2 separate regions of the Homo sapiens genome follow, and region 2 is linked to region 1. Evidence: promoter capture Hi-C in 16 types of primary human blood cells and fetal thymus (Javierre and others, 2016). All regions are on one chromosome and are shown on one strand. The core of a region is centred on a gene start or on the middle of the fragment in contact, and the rest is flanking DNA. Distances in the headings are between cores, read along the strand shown. Region 1 overlaps CDIN1 (CDAN1 interacting nuclease 1). Region 2 holds the start of SPRED1 (sprouty related EVH1 domain containing 1).

Region 1 (3,632 bases), core at 622-3,121:
CATTCTATAAAATTGACCAGTACTCTTCAAAAGTGTCAAAATCATAAAAGACAAAGAAATAGTAAGAAACTGTCACAGATTGGAAATGACTTAAGACATTACAATTAAATCCAACGTGTGATCCTAGAAAAGGGACATCAGTGAAAAAACTAGCAAAGTTCAAAAAATGTGTCTGTAGATTAATGATATTGCATTAAAATTAACTTACTGATTTTGACAATCGTACCATGGTAATGTTAACATTAAGAGAAGCTGGGTGAAGGGTATATGAGAATTCTCTGTAATATTTCTGCAACTTTTCTGCAAGCTTAAAATTATCCCAAAAACTCTCCCAAAAGTAACAAATAATCAAATATATATGTAGTGTTTGGGCAGGAAATTATAATGTAAAATATAACCTTATAAGTAACAGCTGATTGGACCAGGGGCTTCTAAGAATGTCCACAAGAAAGATTAAAAAATGTCAATCAATAAATATGTCCTCAGCAAGTACTTCAAATGTAGTATGTCCTATGTTTCAGGTGCCAAAGGGCCCATTACAGAAAGTCTTCAAATAACGTTATTTTGTTCAACATTATTTTGTTATAAAGTTGATGAGTATTTTTAAAAATTGTTTCCTGGCTGGGGCCACTGTCTGTGTGGAGTTTGCATGTTCTCCTGACGTCTGCGTGAACTTTCTCCCAGTACTCTGGTTTCCTTCCACATCTCAATGATGTACGTGTCTGCAGAACTGGCATGTCTAAATAGCCCCAGTGTGAGTGAGTATGGGAGTGTGTGTGAGCGTGTCCCGTGCTGGGATGGCTTCATACCTTGCAGCCTGAGCTGCCAGAGGCCACTCAGAATCCTAAACTGGAATAAGCGGGTTGGTAAATAAATGAATGAATAAGTGAATAAATGAATGAATACAAATTACTGTAAAATAAAAATTCATAAATCTATGATAATCATACAAACGCATGACAATAAAGATGCAGTACACAAGTGCTCAGCAAGCTCACCACATTTGTTATTGTTTGCTTTTTGTTTTTTGTTTTTAGAGACAGAGTCTAACTGTTGTGGCTCAGGCTGGACTGCAGTGGCACGTTCCTAACTCACTGCAGCCTCAAACTCCCAGGCTTAAGCAATCTTCTCACCTTAGCATCCTGAGTTGCTGGAACTACAAGCATGTACCACCACACCTGGCTAATTTTTAAATTTTTTTGAAGAGACAGGGTCTCGCTCTGTTGAACAGGCTATTGTTTGCTTTTGAATACATGGTGGTAAGAGGTGCTTCTCACAAATTTCACTTTGCAAACACATACTCTTAGATTTAATCCACCACCACTATGACCACCATCACTCACTGATTCACCAAAAATTGGGTAAATAATTATCTTACTTGTTTAGGCTCACATTAATTTCAATGTTTAATATTAGATGTGTTTTGGGTCTTTATTTTATTTTTTATGGTTTTTTTGAGACGGAGTGTTGCTCTGTCACCCAGGCTGGAGTGCAGTGGCGCCATCTCAGCTCACTGCAAGCTCTGCCTCCCAGGTTCATGCCATTCTCCTGCCTCAGTCTCCTGAGTAGCTGGGACTACAGGCGCCCGCCACCGTGCCCAGCTAATTTTCTGTATTTTTAGTAGAGACGGGGTTTCACTGTGTTAGCCAGGATGGTCTCGATCTCCTGACCTCGTGATCTGCCCGCCTCAGCCTCCCAAAGTGCCGGGATTACAGGCTTGAGCCACAGTGCCCAGCCTTGGGTCTTTATTTAGAAGTTTGGTGATGTTATTATGACCAGAAATATGCTATAGGAACTTAATTCTTGTTTATAACAATTAGCATATGGTAAAATTGCTCTCATTATACATTGTTTCACTTAAAGTTGCAGTCTCCAAAGCCCTACCGAAGACATTAAATGATGACTTACTGTATGGTAAAACTGTAGAAACGAAAATAGAATGAGGGTGAATTTTGGAGTTGTAAGATATTACAGATCACAAAGTCCTACTCCTTCATTTTAAAGTGAAGGATTCTGAGACCACGTAAAACACAGTGACTTGAAAAAACATAATTTTGTAACTTCAGTCAAAACAAGCCATGAAGAAGTGAGGCTACCCCAGAAGTCACAGTAAGAGGAAAAATTAAGCTGGAGAAAAAATTAAGCTACATCTTCACCTCTCAGCATTTACTAAAATAAATTTCAGCCAGAAAGATTTAAAAATTAAGAATAAAAAACAAAGCCATAAAGAATCTAAAAGAAAATTTAGGTGAAATATTTTTTTCTTTCATATATTAGGACAGAAAAGAACTTCCTAAGTATAAAGGCAAAAATGTCAGAAAAAAAAAGCATACATTTAAAAGTTAACCATATCAAAAGCAGAACAATATTTAAAATCAAACAACTGAGAAAATTTATGCAACAAATATGACATATATAGGACCAGCATCCTGAACATATGCAGATCAATAAGTAATAAATCAATAAACAATAACAACAGACATGCCAACAGAAAATTAGGCAAAGGATACCAAACAGGTAATTCAAAGGAAAATTAAGTGGTCAAAAAAATTTGGAAAAAGGTACAACCTATAATAATTTTTAAAATGCTAACTACAAGATGTCATTCTTGATCGAACATATTAAAGATTAAATAATGACTCTTCTCAATACTGGAAAAGTTGCAGAGACAGAGACTCTCACGCTCTGCTAGTAAAAGGACTAGTACAATTTTTTTAAATTTGTCAGTATACATCAAAATCCTTGAAAACATAATTATGCTTTGATTTGAATTAGCTAGTGATTGTCTAAGTGTGGCTGTGGACTTGGAGTCCCTGAGACCCTCTCACAGGTCTACAGGGTCAACACGACTATTTTTATAAAAATAGCAAGATAGTATTTTCCTTTTGCGCTGTATTCACATTTGGACTTATGGTACAAAAACAATGGTGAGTAAAACTGCCAGCTCCTGAGCATAAAACAAGGCACAAATCATAGGCATCATAACTGTACTAGTAGTCACTGTATTCACTGCCACACACGTGCAGGAAAAACAAAACAAAACAAGACTTTCACTAAAGAATATTCTCTTATTAATTGCATTAAATCTCAACCCTTGAATACACAACCTTTTAACATTCTGTATGACTAGAGTAAATACAAAGCACATATACTTCATATCAAAGTATGATGGTTGCCTCCCAGGAAAGCACTTGTATGACTGTTTGAGAGCTGAACTAGCTACTTTTTCTAGGGAACACCATTTTTACTTGAATTAATGATAACAAAGTATATTATTCAGATTTAAGTATCTGGCAGACACTTTCTCAAAAATAAACAATGTGAGCCTGTCATTTCAAGGAAAACAACTAATAGCATTTGTTGCCAATGATAAAATTTGAGCTTTCAAGGGAAAATTCAAATACTGGAATGCTCATATCCATCACCACAAGCTTGACAGCTTCAAATCTTACAGACTTCTGATGAGATTAGAGATGATATTAACAAATGTAATTTTTTGATATTGTATAATGAAAGGTGACATTTGTAAGATCTGCACAACTCACAAGCAACATTTTACAAAGGAATAATGCACGATGATAACAAATCAGGCATGGGTAAAAGATCCATTCAAGTTCAAAATAGGCCAATGG
Region 2 (3,632 bases), core at 406-2,905, 1.7 Mb before region 1:
GCAAATGAGGGCGATTCACAAAAAGAGACAGAACATGGCTGCCACTTCTGCTTCTACACTGCACTGACACTGCAGCAATGTACCTCCTTCTACACCCGCTCAGCAGAAGCGTGTGTTTTGGGGTGGGGAGGGAGTAAGGGAGGAGGAAATGTTGTTTGGCCTTTCTCTAGCTATTTTACGTTAAACAGGACTCGGTACAGACTTTAAAAAGTTATTTCAAAAAGGTCTGACTTTAGTAATGCACTGTATTTAAAGGAATGCATCCAAATGACTAAGTCCTAACTCACTTAACTCTTTCCAACCCTCCGAAGATAAACAAAAGTTGAACTTAATTACAAGAAAACGGATGCTAATATTCTGCTTGGAATTAAATCCCTTCTCAATAGAAAAGTGTTGCCAACCATTATTTCTCCACGCAGCTGTCACGTTAAAGCAAAACATTTAAAAGACGAAGTATTTCGTTTGGAAAGCAAGGAGAAAGCCCAAATAAGCTAAAACTTAAACCGGAATGCTCTAAAAGTTAATGAAATCACCAACATATTCAGCAATGTAAATTCGGTTACATCAACGTAAATCATGTGTTTTCACATAGCTGAAAGGTAAAAATTAGCATTCAAAATTCTTCTCCGTTCCTGAAGACACGTCCAATATTCACAAAGGTAAACTCTAGCTCAACATCGCCCACACTCCAGGTGTCCTTAATCCTATTAAATTCTAAAAATGTTTCCCTAACCCTATTTTTTACAAGAATCTTACAGGTCATAAGTTTAAAAGGGGGAGGGGGGAGAGGGTGAAGGCTTAATCGGTATTTAAGAGTCACTGACTCATCGAATTAAGATTCAAGAGCAGTTTGCTGCAGGAGGTGCTCCCACACATTAGTTTCCAAGTGAAACAGCTATAAAGGAAGTAGGATGGATACTGAAGGTATGGTGACTGGTATGTGAGTGAAAAAGGACGGGACAGGGGTCTCACAGGCAAAGGGGTAGTTTCTACTCCACTTCCATCCATCCACATTATTCCCTCTCATAGACGTACAATTGCCATCCTCTCCCAACACTTAATCCCCTACCCCAAAAGAAAGCAGCTAAATGTGGGAGGATGGGGAGGGGTGCTGCCACTAAAAATGGCTAAAGAAATCAGCTATCTCCAGAAGATGCACCGAACTCTCCAGGGTCGCAAGCTTTCCGGCACCCAAGTTTCGGATGGGTCTGGGGGAGAGCCGAGGGCGGATAGGGGGAGGGGGATTAGCAATCGAGATCAATGAGGCGCTTACTCGTTGTCAGAAGTCGCCGTCTCCTCGCTCATCTTTCCCTCACCGTGATCCGATCTGGAGATGGAGGAGCAACAGCAGGCGGGGGAGCAACAGCAGCACCGAGGGGCAGGAGGCAGCGGCGGCCGGGGGGGCGCGGGGGCAGCGGCACAGGGGCCTCACCATGGTGGATGCCTCACCCAGAACGGTACCCCCCCAGCCGGGAACCCCGGCCACCCCCGCAGGGGGGTGGCGGCAGCAACCTCCGCCGTGGCGACCCCAGCCTCTTCCCCCGCCTCAGTGCCCAGCCAAGGGATCCGAGGAGGCCCGGTGGAAAGGGAAAAAGAGAGGGGCTGCAAAGGCTGACTGGAGAGCTGCTCCTCCAGCCACTGGGGTGGAGCGCAGCGGGGTCCGGCCAGGAAGGAGTCGGCGGGCGGAGAACCCGGGAGCAGAGGCGGCGCTTCCCTCAGGGATGCGGCGAGGAGGAAGCAGAGCTCCGCTCGGTGGGGGCCGGCGGGGGGGTGCCGAGCCCAGGCTCCGGGCAGCGGCGGCGCGGTCCTGCCGGAGCCCACCCCACCATCTCCCGCCTCGCCGCCGGCTGCCCCTCAACCCCCGGCGGCGTCTGGGTCGGTCCTCAGGCGCCGGCAGAGCAGGGCTAGGGGCCCCGCGGCGGCGGATTCCTCCAGACACGCTCCAGCCGGGACTCCTCCTCAGGGGGGTGGAGGGGGCGGCGGGGAGCGTGTGAGGCGAGGGGCAGGCAAACCGATCGTTCCCACCCGGCCGGAGAAGAGCGGGCGGGCCCGGGTCCGGGGGGCAGGATCCCGAGAAGCGGCGGGAGAGGACAAGAGCGGCTGCAGGTTCCCCGCCAGCCAGTGCCCACCAGCAGCTCAGCGGGCCAGCTCCTCACGCCCGAGAGAGGGGAGCCGCGAGGGGGGCGGCGGAAGCGCTCACGCCGCCCGCTCCTTCCGCCGCCGCAGCCGCTGCCCGAACCGGGGGCGCCCGCGAGAGAAGGAGGCGAAGTAGTCCCTCGCGACTTCTCCCGGCCGCCCGCTTTCCCCGGAGGCCAGAGCGGGCGCGGGGTGGGGCTGCCGAGCGGGGTGCCCAGGCTGTGAGGGTGTGTGGGTAGGACTAAAAGCCGCGGCCTCCGGGCGAATCACTGCAACTCGAAGTCATGTGCAGCATAGCAAGTTTCAGGAAAGTAGTTCCCTCCTCCCTTCATTTCCCAAATCGTTGTCGAGCCACTTAGCGGAGAAAGGGGGAGGGAGGCGGAGGGATATCCTCCCTGCACCGTGCTCGGTGTGCGTGCGCGCGCTCCAAACTCTTGGCACGCCGCGAAAGGGGGCGGGGGTGGGAGCTGCGAGGGGAGCTGCTAGGGAGGTTGCATTGTTGTGGCGCGTTACTCCCCGTTACTCTGCTTGGAATATCCGGGTTGCTTGAACGAAGAGGCTAGAAAGACAGTGTGCTCAGAGGGGAAATCTGGAGGCTACTCTCTTCTGCCGTGTGTGTGTGTGTGTGTGTGTGTGTGTGTGTGTGTGTGTGTGTGTTTTCTTTGCAGAGCAAAGAATGGAACTGGCATGAGTTCATCTTTAGTTAGTGGGGGTTAGAAGCAGGGACTGCAAAGAGAGCTCCTCCTGCTGTCCCCCTGGTTGCACTGCTGCAGTCCCCTAGCTGCATGCACGAAGTGTATGTGTGTGTGTGTGTGTGTGTGTGTGTGTGTGAGAGAGAGAGAGAGAGAATATGAGAATGTATGTGTGTTTTAACACCTCGCCTCGCTGCCTGGATTCTTACTGCGCAAGGGGTATGCTATCAGGGCATTCATCTCGGAAAGCTGGAGTGATTGTTAATGGAGAACGACTTCCATTGAAGCCCAGGGTAGGCGTGTTACATGAATCTGGCGCAGCCAGAACGGAGGAAATAACTCCCGCTGCGAGTGAGGTTGCATAACTATAGCGCAGGAGATGCTTCTGTGGCACGAACTGCTCTGAACGGAGGCGGACCGATTGGATAGACAGCTGTCACGAATGCATTGTTAGAAGACAAAGTATGCATTCATCTCAAAAGATTTTTGCACAGAAACCTACTGGGGTTGCGGGCTGGAGCCTAAGGTCAGCCCAGCCACAGGAGTCAGAGCTCCTGGCTCTGCAAATTCTATTATCTGTTCTCCACTTAGAAAACCAGCCTGTACATGAACCACCTTAGGGGACTGAATCCCAAGTGCTCCCAAGTTCCTGACGCATCTTCCCAGATATAAGTCTCGCCCTGCGTGCAATGTTTTTCTCTTCCTTCTCAGATTTGTGCGACCTAAGAATGAAGGTTGCCGCTGGTGCCACATTAAAGAGAACAATTCCCGAGGAAAAAAAGAAGTTGGGAGAACCTCGTTAAC

The links. Contacts are between HindIII fragments. The CHiCAGO score rates a contact against its expected background, and 5 or more counts as called.
Region 2: the fragment with the promoter of SPRED1 here is called in contact with a fragment that was not itself captured in region 1 in 1 of 17 cell types (total B cells); the score reaches 5.1 in total B cells.

What each region holds. Positions count from the first base shown.
Region 1 is chr15:36,581,840-36,585,471 of GRCh38, reverse strand. All of the region lies in intron 1 of CDIN1 (CDAN1 interacting nuclease 1), which reads right to left. Among named protein-coding and RNA genes, the nearest start is that of CDIN1, 4.0 kb to the right of the region's middle. The HindIII fragment of the contact is 3,124 bases long and covers 310-3,433 here.
Region 2 is chr15:38,250,859-38,254,490 of GRCh38, reverse strand. It overlaps SPRED1 (sprouty related EVH1 domain containing 1), which reads right to left and starts at 1,655. Exons shown (of 7, transcript NM_152594.3): 1 at 1,274-1,655. The coding sequence starts at 1,305. RefSeq lists silencers at 1,446-1,495, 1,506-1,565, 1,746-1,845, 1,946-1,995, 2,006-2,305 and 2 more. The HindIII fragment of the contact is 4,356 bases long and covers 1,183-3,632 here.